Regions from separate parts of the Homo sapiens genome. Here region 2 is linked to region 1. Evidence: promoter capture Hi-C in 16 types of primary human blood cells and fetal thymus (Javierre and others, 2016). All regions are on one chromosome and are shown on one strand. Each heading gives the region's core, a stretch centred on a gene start or on the middle of the fragment in contact. The rest is flanking DNA. Distances are from core to core; before and after follow the strand shown. Region 1 holds the start of SAP25 (Sin3A associated protein 25). Region 2 overlaps SLC12A9-AS1 (SLC12A9 antisense RNA 1).

The links. The method cuts DNA at HindIII sites, captures the fragments that hold promoters and counts their contacts. A CHiCAGO score of 5 or more calls a contact.
Region 2: a fragment that was not itself captured here is called in contact with the fragment with the promoter of SAP25 in region 1 in 9 of 17 cell types (total B cells, total CD8 T cells, naive B cells and 6 more); the score reaches 8.7 in total B cells.

The regions. Positions count from the first base shown.
Region 1 is chr7:100,572,618-100,576,858 of GRCh38, forward strand. SAP25 (Sin3A associated protein 25) reads right to left here and starts at 1,283. Exons shown (of 6, transcript NM_001348680.2): 1 at 980-1,283; 2 at 680-783; 3 at 489-595; 4 at 243-396; 5 at 37-134. The coding sequence starts at 1,125. LRCH4 (leucine rich repeats and calponin homology domain containing 4) reads right to left here. Exons shown (of 18, transcript NM_002319.5): 14 at 4,077-4,160; 15 at 3,621-3,706; 16 at 3,254-3,391; 17 at 3,088-3,165; 18 at 1,394-2,687. The coding sequence ends at 2,490. RefSeq lists enhancers at 2,147-2,701, 2,702-3,255. The HindIII fragment of the contact is 23,848 bases long and covers 1-4,241 here.
Region 2 is chr7:100,845,355-100,849,595 of GRCh38, forward strand. All of the region lies in intron 1 of SLC12A9-AS1 (SLC12A9 antisense RNA 1), which reads right to left. It also overlaps a transcript of SLC12A9 not described here. Among named protein-coding and RNA genes, the nearest start is that of SLC12A9-AS1, 5.1 kb to the right of the region's middle. The HindIII fragment of the contact is 1,181 bases long and covers 1,226-2,406 here.

The sequences.
Region 1 (4,241 bases), core at 33-2,532:
GCTGGGGTAAGGACAGGGAGGGGAAAGAGCTCTCACCTGCTGGGGGGCCTTGGACAGGTACAGGGGAACACGCTGCCCCCGGGGCAGCAGAGGGTCCGAGAGGAAGACATCTTCACAGCACACCACCGGGAACCCTAGGAGGAAACACCACTAGGGTGGCGGGCTGCGGGCTCCCACCCCTGGGCACTGGTTCCCAGAGGAGTTGGGGCAGCCTTGCGCCCCCGGGGGACCAAGGGAGGTACCTGCATCTGGGGGCGCCTGCTGTCCATTCCAGTGCCCTGTGGCAGGGGCCACGGGCCTGAGACCCCTGCCCGAGGCTGCTTCATACAGCGGCCAGAATGAGGGGTGACACAGCGTCCGGCCTGAGAACGAGGCTCCTGAGCTACAGTTGGCCCCCTAGGGTGAGGAGGACAGAGCACTGGAGCCTCAGGCCACCGCACAGCTCCCTGAGCACCCCAGCCAGTCCCACAGGTTTGCCCCCAACTCACCCACACCGGCCGAGGTCCTGCTTTGGCTTCATACTTGGGGTCCCAGGGCGCTAGTGGAGTCATCCTCGAGGGGGCCACCTCCCAGGCCACCTGGGGGGAACGGGGATCTGGGGGGACGCTTGGGGATTATAACAGGCTCACAGTCAGTGAGAGGCTCTTAGGGGTAGTAGAGGCAGCAGGGCCTGTCCTACCTGGGGCTCCGGGGGGCTGCTCAGTGGCCGGGCCTGGCAGGTGGTGGGGCAGCAGCAGCTGCTCTCTCCAGATCCAGGAAGGGCTACGGGATGGGGGCTGTGGGCTGGAGGGGCAGGGACTGAGGCTGCAGCCACACCGCCCCCACGCACCCTCCCCTGGAGCCCAAGGGTGCCTGGTGCAAGGGAGACCGAGGGACCCAATCTCCAGCAGGGACAATGGAGAAGCCTCCGTAGAGCGCGTGGTGAAGGCATGGAGGCCCCCAGTCGCTGTCCCCCCACGGCTCCGTCCGAGCCCCTCACCTGTCCCATGGGGGTGTCCCCAGCTCCCTGGGGGCGTCCGCTCCGGCGCTCCAGGGCTCGCCCTGGTCCTTGCCCGCCGGAAGGCCTGGTCCCTCGGGCGCCTCCTCCGGGCCCGCGCCCCACCGCGGCGGCGACCAGGGCAACATTCCGCGTTCCCGAGCGCAGGACGGTACCGCCGTGTCCCCGCCGCCCGGCCCGGCCCTCTCAGCCTCCCTCCGCGGCGCGGCGCGAACGTGCCCTCCTGGCGAACCCACCCCAGAGGCCTCGCGGCGACGCTGGCGCCCTGTGCGTCTCCCGGCCACGTGGCGCGTGCCCCCGCCGGGCTCCCGCGGGCGCCCCCTGGCGACTGGGCGGTGAATTCCGGAAACAGAGGCCCCCCCAACAACCCCGCGACGCACGTGCTCTCAGACACAGTTACACCTGAGGGCCACCCAGAGGGCTTCTGGCTTCTGTTTATTGCGGCTGACACGACACCTGCGACACCCGCGGTCCTTCCACCCAGACCCTCGACCCCAGAGGCAGCCAGGCCGGCAGGCCAAGGGTGCCCAGGCCCAGGCCACCCTCACCACGTGCTTCTCTGAGAGCGCGGAGCCCAGGCGCGTCTTCTGCTCCCGGGGTCCCGGGCGGGGTGGGCCCTGTGCCCCCACCTTCACCCCTAAGGCCGGTCCAGCAGGGCGTGGACGACAGCAGCGATGTAGGGGAGGCCCCTTCCCGGGGCCCCCTCCTCTTCCAGGATGTGGTGGGGCTGGCACAGTGACTCCTGGGGGAAGGGGCCGGGTTAGCTTCCCCACGGTGCCCCCTGCGGCTTCCGGCCTGTGGCAGGGGGTCGGGGGCAGACCCGAGCATCACCGTGCGCTCGGGGCTCGGCGACAAATGAGACGCAAGAAAGCTGTCAGCGATAACAGAAGGGAGGTGACACGGGGGGTTGGCGGACGCTCCGGGAGCATGAGAGGCCGGCATCTCAGGAGGGAGATGCTGGTGGGCACAGAGCCATGGCCACAGCCACCAACACGCGGAGCAGACGCGCGCGCGCGCGCACACACACACACACAGGCAGGGCGGCCACGGTCTGTACAGTTTATACACAGAGATAGGGACCCGGCCTGGGCCCCGAACCCCTACAAATATAGATCCTCTCTACAAAATAGAGATAATTTAGCCCCCCCATAGCAGCTGTTGGGGGGGGAAGGGGAGGGCACAGGAGGAAGGGGGAGACTCCAGCTCCTGCCACCCCTCACGGGGTACAGAGGGCAGGGGCAGGGCCGGCGGGGACATGAAGGCACCGTCAGCACTGAGAGGTGGGGACTCGTGGGGCTACTGGAGGGAGGCCAGAGGCTGGGGGCCCAGGGTCTGGGGGCACCAGAGTGGGGCCTCTGAGGTCAGTGTCTGTGAAGGGGGTGCACTAGTGTCTTTGGTTGGGGCTGAAGGCACCGCAGGTGGGGTCGGGTGGAGCAGGGACCTTATAAATAGAGAGGAAGGGAAAGGGGTGAGGGAGGGCCGATTTTGGGGCCTAGGAACCCAGGAGCCGAGTGTAGGTGACATAGAGCAGCAGCATGAGGACCACGTAGAAGACGACGAAGCCGCCCAGACCAGAGGGGGGCCAGAGGGGCGGTAGGGCCTTGCCCCCCACCCGCTTCACGGCCTCCAGCGCGGTCCGCAGCCCCCGGGCAGTGCCCTGGAGGAGATCCGAGGGCGAGCACAGGTCAGCCTGGGGGAGAGGAGAGCAGGTGGACAAGGACAAGGGACAGACGTCAGCAGCAGCAGCAGGACAGTCCCTCCCACCCCTGCCCTCACGTGCTGGGGCCAGAACCACGCCCACATGCTGACGTGCTGGGCAGGGGGAGTGCAGTGCAGGAGGAGTGCAGGGCAGGGCATGTGCAGGACAGGTGACATGCAGGACAAGATGGGGCCTGCAGGGCAGGGGATGTGTAGGACAGGTGACATGCAGGGCAGGGGGCATGCAGGGCAGGGGGCATGCTGGGCAGGGCAGGGGCAGCCTGTGCCTTCATCTGAGAGCAGACATCCGCTGCAAATGGAAGCCCACCATCCATGCCACATGCTCGGCTGAGTCCGGCATGCCACCACTCTTTAGAAAGCAGCCCCCATACCTCAGGCACCCCCATTTTTCGACAGGCTTCTAGAAAACTCTCCACATTCTTCCGAGCCTTGAGGGCACTGAGTTTTGGCTGGGGTGGGTGAAAGAAGAAAATGTGGTAAGGGAGAGGCCACAGGCGCCCCGGCCCATCCCCCACCTCTTCCCCAGCCCCAACTGACCACAGCAGGGGAGGGCACATGGATGAAGGGCACGGAGCGCGGCCGTAGCTGGTTGGCCAGCTGGCACAGGATGACCCCACTGGCCAGAGCCTCGGCCAGGTCCTCAGGCAGGGGCCGCTGCAGCCGGGACTCAAGGACCTGGCAGTGTAGACCACATAGAGCAGGGGTCAGGGAAGGAGAGGCGTCTGGGAGGCAGGGAGAGTGGGGGGCTCAGGGCTAGCAGGGAACTTGTGCCTGTCCCTTCCTGTCCTCAGGGGAGGTGCCAGAGTGGGCACAGAGGATGTGGAGGGAGGCTGGTCCCAAGGACAGCAACACAAGGAGGTGCCCGGCCCAGGCCCCTGCCCACGCAGCTCCCGCCTCTGCTCACCTGGCGCAGCTGAGTCATTAAGTCCTTCTCATCTGGAACCTGGGGGTACCGCCGAGGTCTCAGGACAGAGTCTGGTGAGGAAGGGCCTAGGAGAAAAAGGGGGGCATGGGGCTGCCTCCACTGCTCACCACTGACTCTGTAGCTGGGTCCCAGTGGCCTGGCACCTACACCTCCTGCCTCTCTGCTTGTGGGATTTTTTTTTATTTCATGGAGATGGGGTCTCGCTATGTTGCCCAGGCTGGTCTTGAATTCCTGGGCTCAAGCGATCCTCCCACCTGGGCCTCCTAAAGTGCTGCGATTACAGGTGTGAGCCACCACACCCGGCTTGCTTGTGGGATTTTCAACGCAAAGGTACAAAAGGTACAACAGACCCAGAGGGCTCCCAGGGCAGAAGGGTGATGTAGCCGTTGGTGCTGGCAAGCACTGGGTCAGCACTGGGGAGGGCAGGACACCCACCTGAGCCACTCTGAGAGGAGGAACGGAAGAGGAAGCTGTTTGGTCTCTGAATGGAGCCAAGTGGCCGTGGAGCAGGTGCTGTCGCTGGGGCCGGAACCAGGGACACAGCGACAGGGGCAGGTGAGACAGGCATCCCCTCTGTGTCCCTCTCTCCCAACCAGCCCT
Region 2 (4,241 bases), core at 566-3,065, 270 kb after region 1:
TATTTATTTTTTTGAGACGGAGTCTTGCTCTGTCGCCCAGGCTGGAGTGCAGTGGAGCAATCTCGGCTCACTGCAAACTCTACCTCCCGGGTTCACGCCATTCTCCTGCCTCAGCCTCCCGAGTAGCTGGGACTACAGGAGCCCGCCACCATGCCCGGCTAATTTTTTGTATTTTTAGTAGAGACGGGGTTTCACCATGTAAGCCAGGATGGTCTCGATCTCCTGCCCTTGTGATCCACCCGCCTCGGCCTCCCAAAGTGCTGGGATTATAGGCGTGGGCCACCACGCCCGGCCTATTGGCACTATTAAACCATCTTTCTTCCTACTGCCCATAAAAACAGGCCAACTCCTAGGCTTCCCTGTCTATGCTTCCCGTGAAAAGAGAAGCATAGCCATAGGAAATTCAAAAAATGATAAATGGCCCTCTGAGAGAATCATACAATATTATAGGCCTGCTACTTAGACACAAGACGGCTCGTGAAGATACTGGACCCCCATTTATATAATCAACTGAATCATATGGTTACAAGCTGTCTTAAAAATAATCACTAATAAAACCAGCAGAGCCTTGACTATTCTAGGCCGGCAAGAAACTCAGATGAGAAATGCTCTCTATCAAAATAGATTAGCTCTCGACTACTTGCTAGCAGCTGAAGGAGAGGTCTGTAAGAAATTTAACCTTACTAATTGCTGCCTACACATAGATAATCAAAGGCAAGTAGTTGAAGACATAGAGATATGACAAAACTGGCACATGTGCCTAGGCAAGTGTGGCATGGATTTGATCCTGAGGCCATGTTTAGAAAATGGTTCCCAGTGCTAAGAGAATTTAAAAGTCTTATAATAAGAGTTATAATAGTAATAGGAACCTGCTTACTGCTCCTTTGTTTGCTACCTGTACTTCTTCAAATGATAAAAAGCTTCATTGCAGGCCGGGCGCGGTGGCTCACGCCTGTAATCCCAGCACTTTGGGAGGCCGAGGCGGGTGGATCACGAGGTCAGGAGATGGAGACCATCCTGGCTAACACGGTGAAACCCTGTCTCTACTAAAAATACAAAAAAATGAGCCGGGCGTGGTGGCGGGCGCCTGTAGTCCCAGTTACTCGGGAGGCTGAGGCAGGAGAATGGCATGAACCCAGGAGGCGGAGCTGGCAGTGAGCCGAGATCGCGCCACTGCACTCTAGCCTGGGCGACAAAGTGAGACTCCGTCTCAAAAAAAAAAAAAAGCTTCATCGCTACCTTAGTTCACCAAAATGCTTCAGCACAAGTGTACTATATGAATCACTATCGATCTGTCGTGCAAGAAGACATGGGTAGTGAGAATGAAAGTGAGAACTTCCACTATTGAGTGAGTCTCAAAGGGGAGGAATAAAGGAAGAGACCGCCCCTCATATTGTCTTATGCCCAATTTCTGCCTCCAAAGAAAGAAAAAGTAAAAACTAAAAGGCAGAAATAAAATCCACAAGCAGACAGCCTGGTGCCACACCCTAGGCCTAGTAGTTAAAGATCGACCCCTGACCTAATCGGTTATGTTATCTATAGATTATAGACATTGTATAGAAAAGCACTGTGAAAATCCCTGTCCTGTTTTCTTCCAATCTAATTACCGGTGCATGCAGCCCCCAGTCACGTACCCCCTGCTTGCTCAATCGATCAAGACCCTCTCTTGCGCGCCCCCTGAGAGTTGTGAGCCCTTAAAAAAGACAGGAATTGCTCACTCGAGGAGCTTGGCTCTTGAGACAAGAGTCTTGCCGATGCCCCCGGCCGAATAAACCCCTTCCTTCTTTAACTCAGTGTCTGAGGAGTTTTGTCTGCGGCTCGTCCTGCTACATTAATGGAAATACAATGTTGGCCAGGCTGGTCCTAAACGCCTGACCTCAAGTGATCCACCCGCCTTGGCCTCCCCAAATGGTGGGAGTACAGGCGTGAGCCACCGCGCCCAGCCGGGAGATGCTGTTAATATTGAAGTCAAGGCATCAGGCATACAGCAGGACTGTAGTTGGTGAGTCAGGCCATCATATTTACAGATGTGGCCTTTGGCTTTTGCTTTGAGGAGAAAGGCATGTCATTGGAGAATTATGAAAGGTGGCACCCATCGGGAATGGATGTTTACCTAAACAGCACCCCTCTAGCTGCTCAGCTGAGAATAGATTTTGGGACAAGTGCAGAAGTGGGAAAACCAGTTAGGAGGCTATTGTGAAAGCGGAAGAGGTGATGGTGGCTTGGACTTGGGTGGTAAAATGTGGTTGCAGACTGGTTATAACTTGAAAGTGGAGGCCAAAGGAATTGTCTATGGTGTGGATGTTGGATGTGAGAGTATTCCGGTGTAACCCCAGGTTTCCGGCCTGAGAGGACCACAGGAGGAGCAGGTGGTGGGAGTTTGAGTATTTAGTTTTGGACATACCAAGCTTGAGTTGCCCATTTGATGTCCAAGCAGAGATGGTAGTAGAGCCGGGTGCCATGGCTCACGCCTGTAATCCTAACACTGTGGGAGGCCAAGGTGGGCGGATCACGTGAGGTCAGGAGTTCAAGACCAGCCTGGCCAACATGGCGAAACCCCATCACTACTAAAAATACAAAAATGAGCCAGGCATGGTGGCACGTGCCTGTAATCCCAGCTACTTGAGAGGCGGAGGCAGGAGAATCGCTTGAACCCGGGAGGTGGAAGTTGCAGTGAGCAGAGCTCTCACCACTGCACTGCAGCCTGGGCGACAGAGTGACTCCATCTCAAAAAAAAAAAAAAAAAAAAAAAAATAGAAAAAGATGGTAGTAGATTGTTGGCTATACAGCCTGAAGTTCAGAGTAGAGGTCTGGGCTAGAGGTACACCCTTGGAGGCACTATCATATAGATGGTATTAAAACAGATTGGGCCGGGTGCGGTGGCTCATGTCTGTAATCCCAGCATTTTGGGAGGCTGAGGTGGGAAGATTACTTGAGCCCAACAGTTCAAGACCAGCCTGGGCAACATAGTGAGAACCTGTCTCTACAAAATATAAAAAATTAGCCAGGCATGGGTGCATGTGCCTATAGCTACTCAGGAGGCTGAGGCAGGAGGATTGCTTGAGCCTGGGAGATAGAGGTTGCTGTGAGCTATGATGGTGCCACTGTACTCCAGCCTAGGCGACAGAGTGAGACCAAGTCTCAAAAATAAATAAATAAATAAATAAATAAATAATAAATAAATACAGAAAAAATAGAACTATGAGACTGGATGAGATCGTGAAGGGACTGGGTATAAATGTTGAAAAGAGGTTGGGCGCAGTGGTTCACGCCTGTAATTCCAGCACTTTGGGAGGCCAAGGCGGGCGGATCACGAGGTCAGGAGATCGAGACCATTCTGGCTAACACGGTGAAACCCCGTCTCCACTAAAAATACAAAAAATTAGCCGTGCGTGGTGGCGGGAGCCTGTAGTCCCAGCTACTTGGGAGGCTGAGGCAGGAGAATCGCTTCAACCTGGGAGGCAGAGCTTGCAGTGAGCCGAGATCGTGCCACTGCACTCCAGCCTGGGTGACAGAGCTAGACTCCATCTCAAAAAAAAGGAAAGAAAGAAAGAAAAGAAAGAAAGAAAGAAAGAAAGAAAGAGCTAGGATAGACAACTAATATAAGGAGAGTTTTTTTGTTTGGTTAGTTTTTTGTTTTTTTTTTTTTGAGATGGACTCTTGCTCTGTCGCCTAGGTGGGAGTGCCTGAACCTCCCGAGTAGCTGGAATTACAGGCGTGTACCACCAGGCCCAGCTAATTTTTGTATTTTTAGTAGAGATGGGGTTTCACCATGATGGCCAGGCTGGTCTTGAACTCCTGACCTCAAGTGATCCTCCTGCTTCGGCCTCCCAAAGTGCTGGGATTACAGGTGTGAGCCACCGTGCCCAGCCTTCACTTCCCTTCTTACCTAGCTTAAATGTCTTTTTTAAGTGGGGTCTTGCTCTGTCAACCAGGTTGGAGTGCAGTGGTGCGATCACAGCTCACTGCACCCTCAACCTCCCAGATTCACTCTAAACTGGGCTAGGCAGGCCTGGCAAGGCAGTGGGATGTGGAGGGAGTGGAACACAACATTGAGACCCAGTCAAGAAGAGGACCCAGGGCGGGTGCGGTGGCTCACACCTGTAATCCCAGCACTTTGGGAGGCTGAGGTGGGTGGATCAACTGAGGGCAGCAGTTTGAGACCAGCCTGGAGAACATGGTGAAACCCTGTCTCTGCTAAAAATACAAAAACTAGCCAGGCATGGTGGCAGACACCTGTC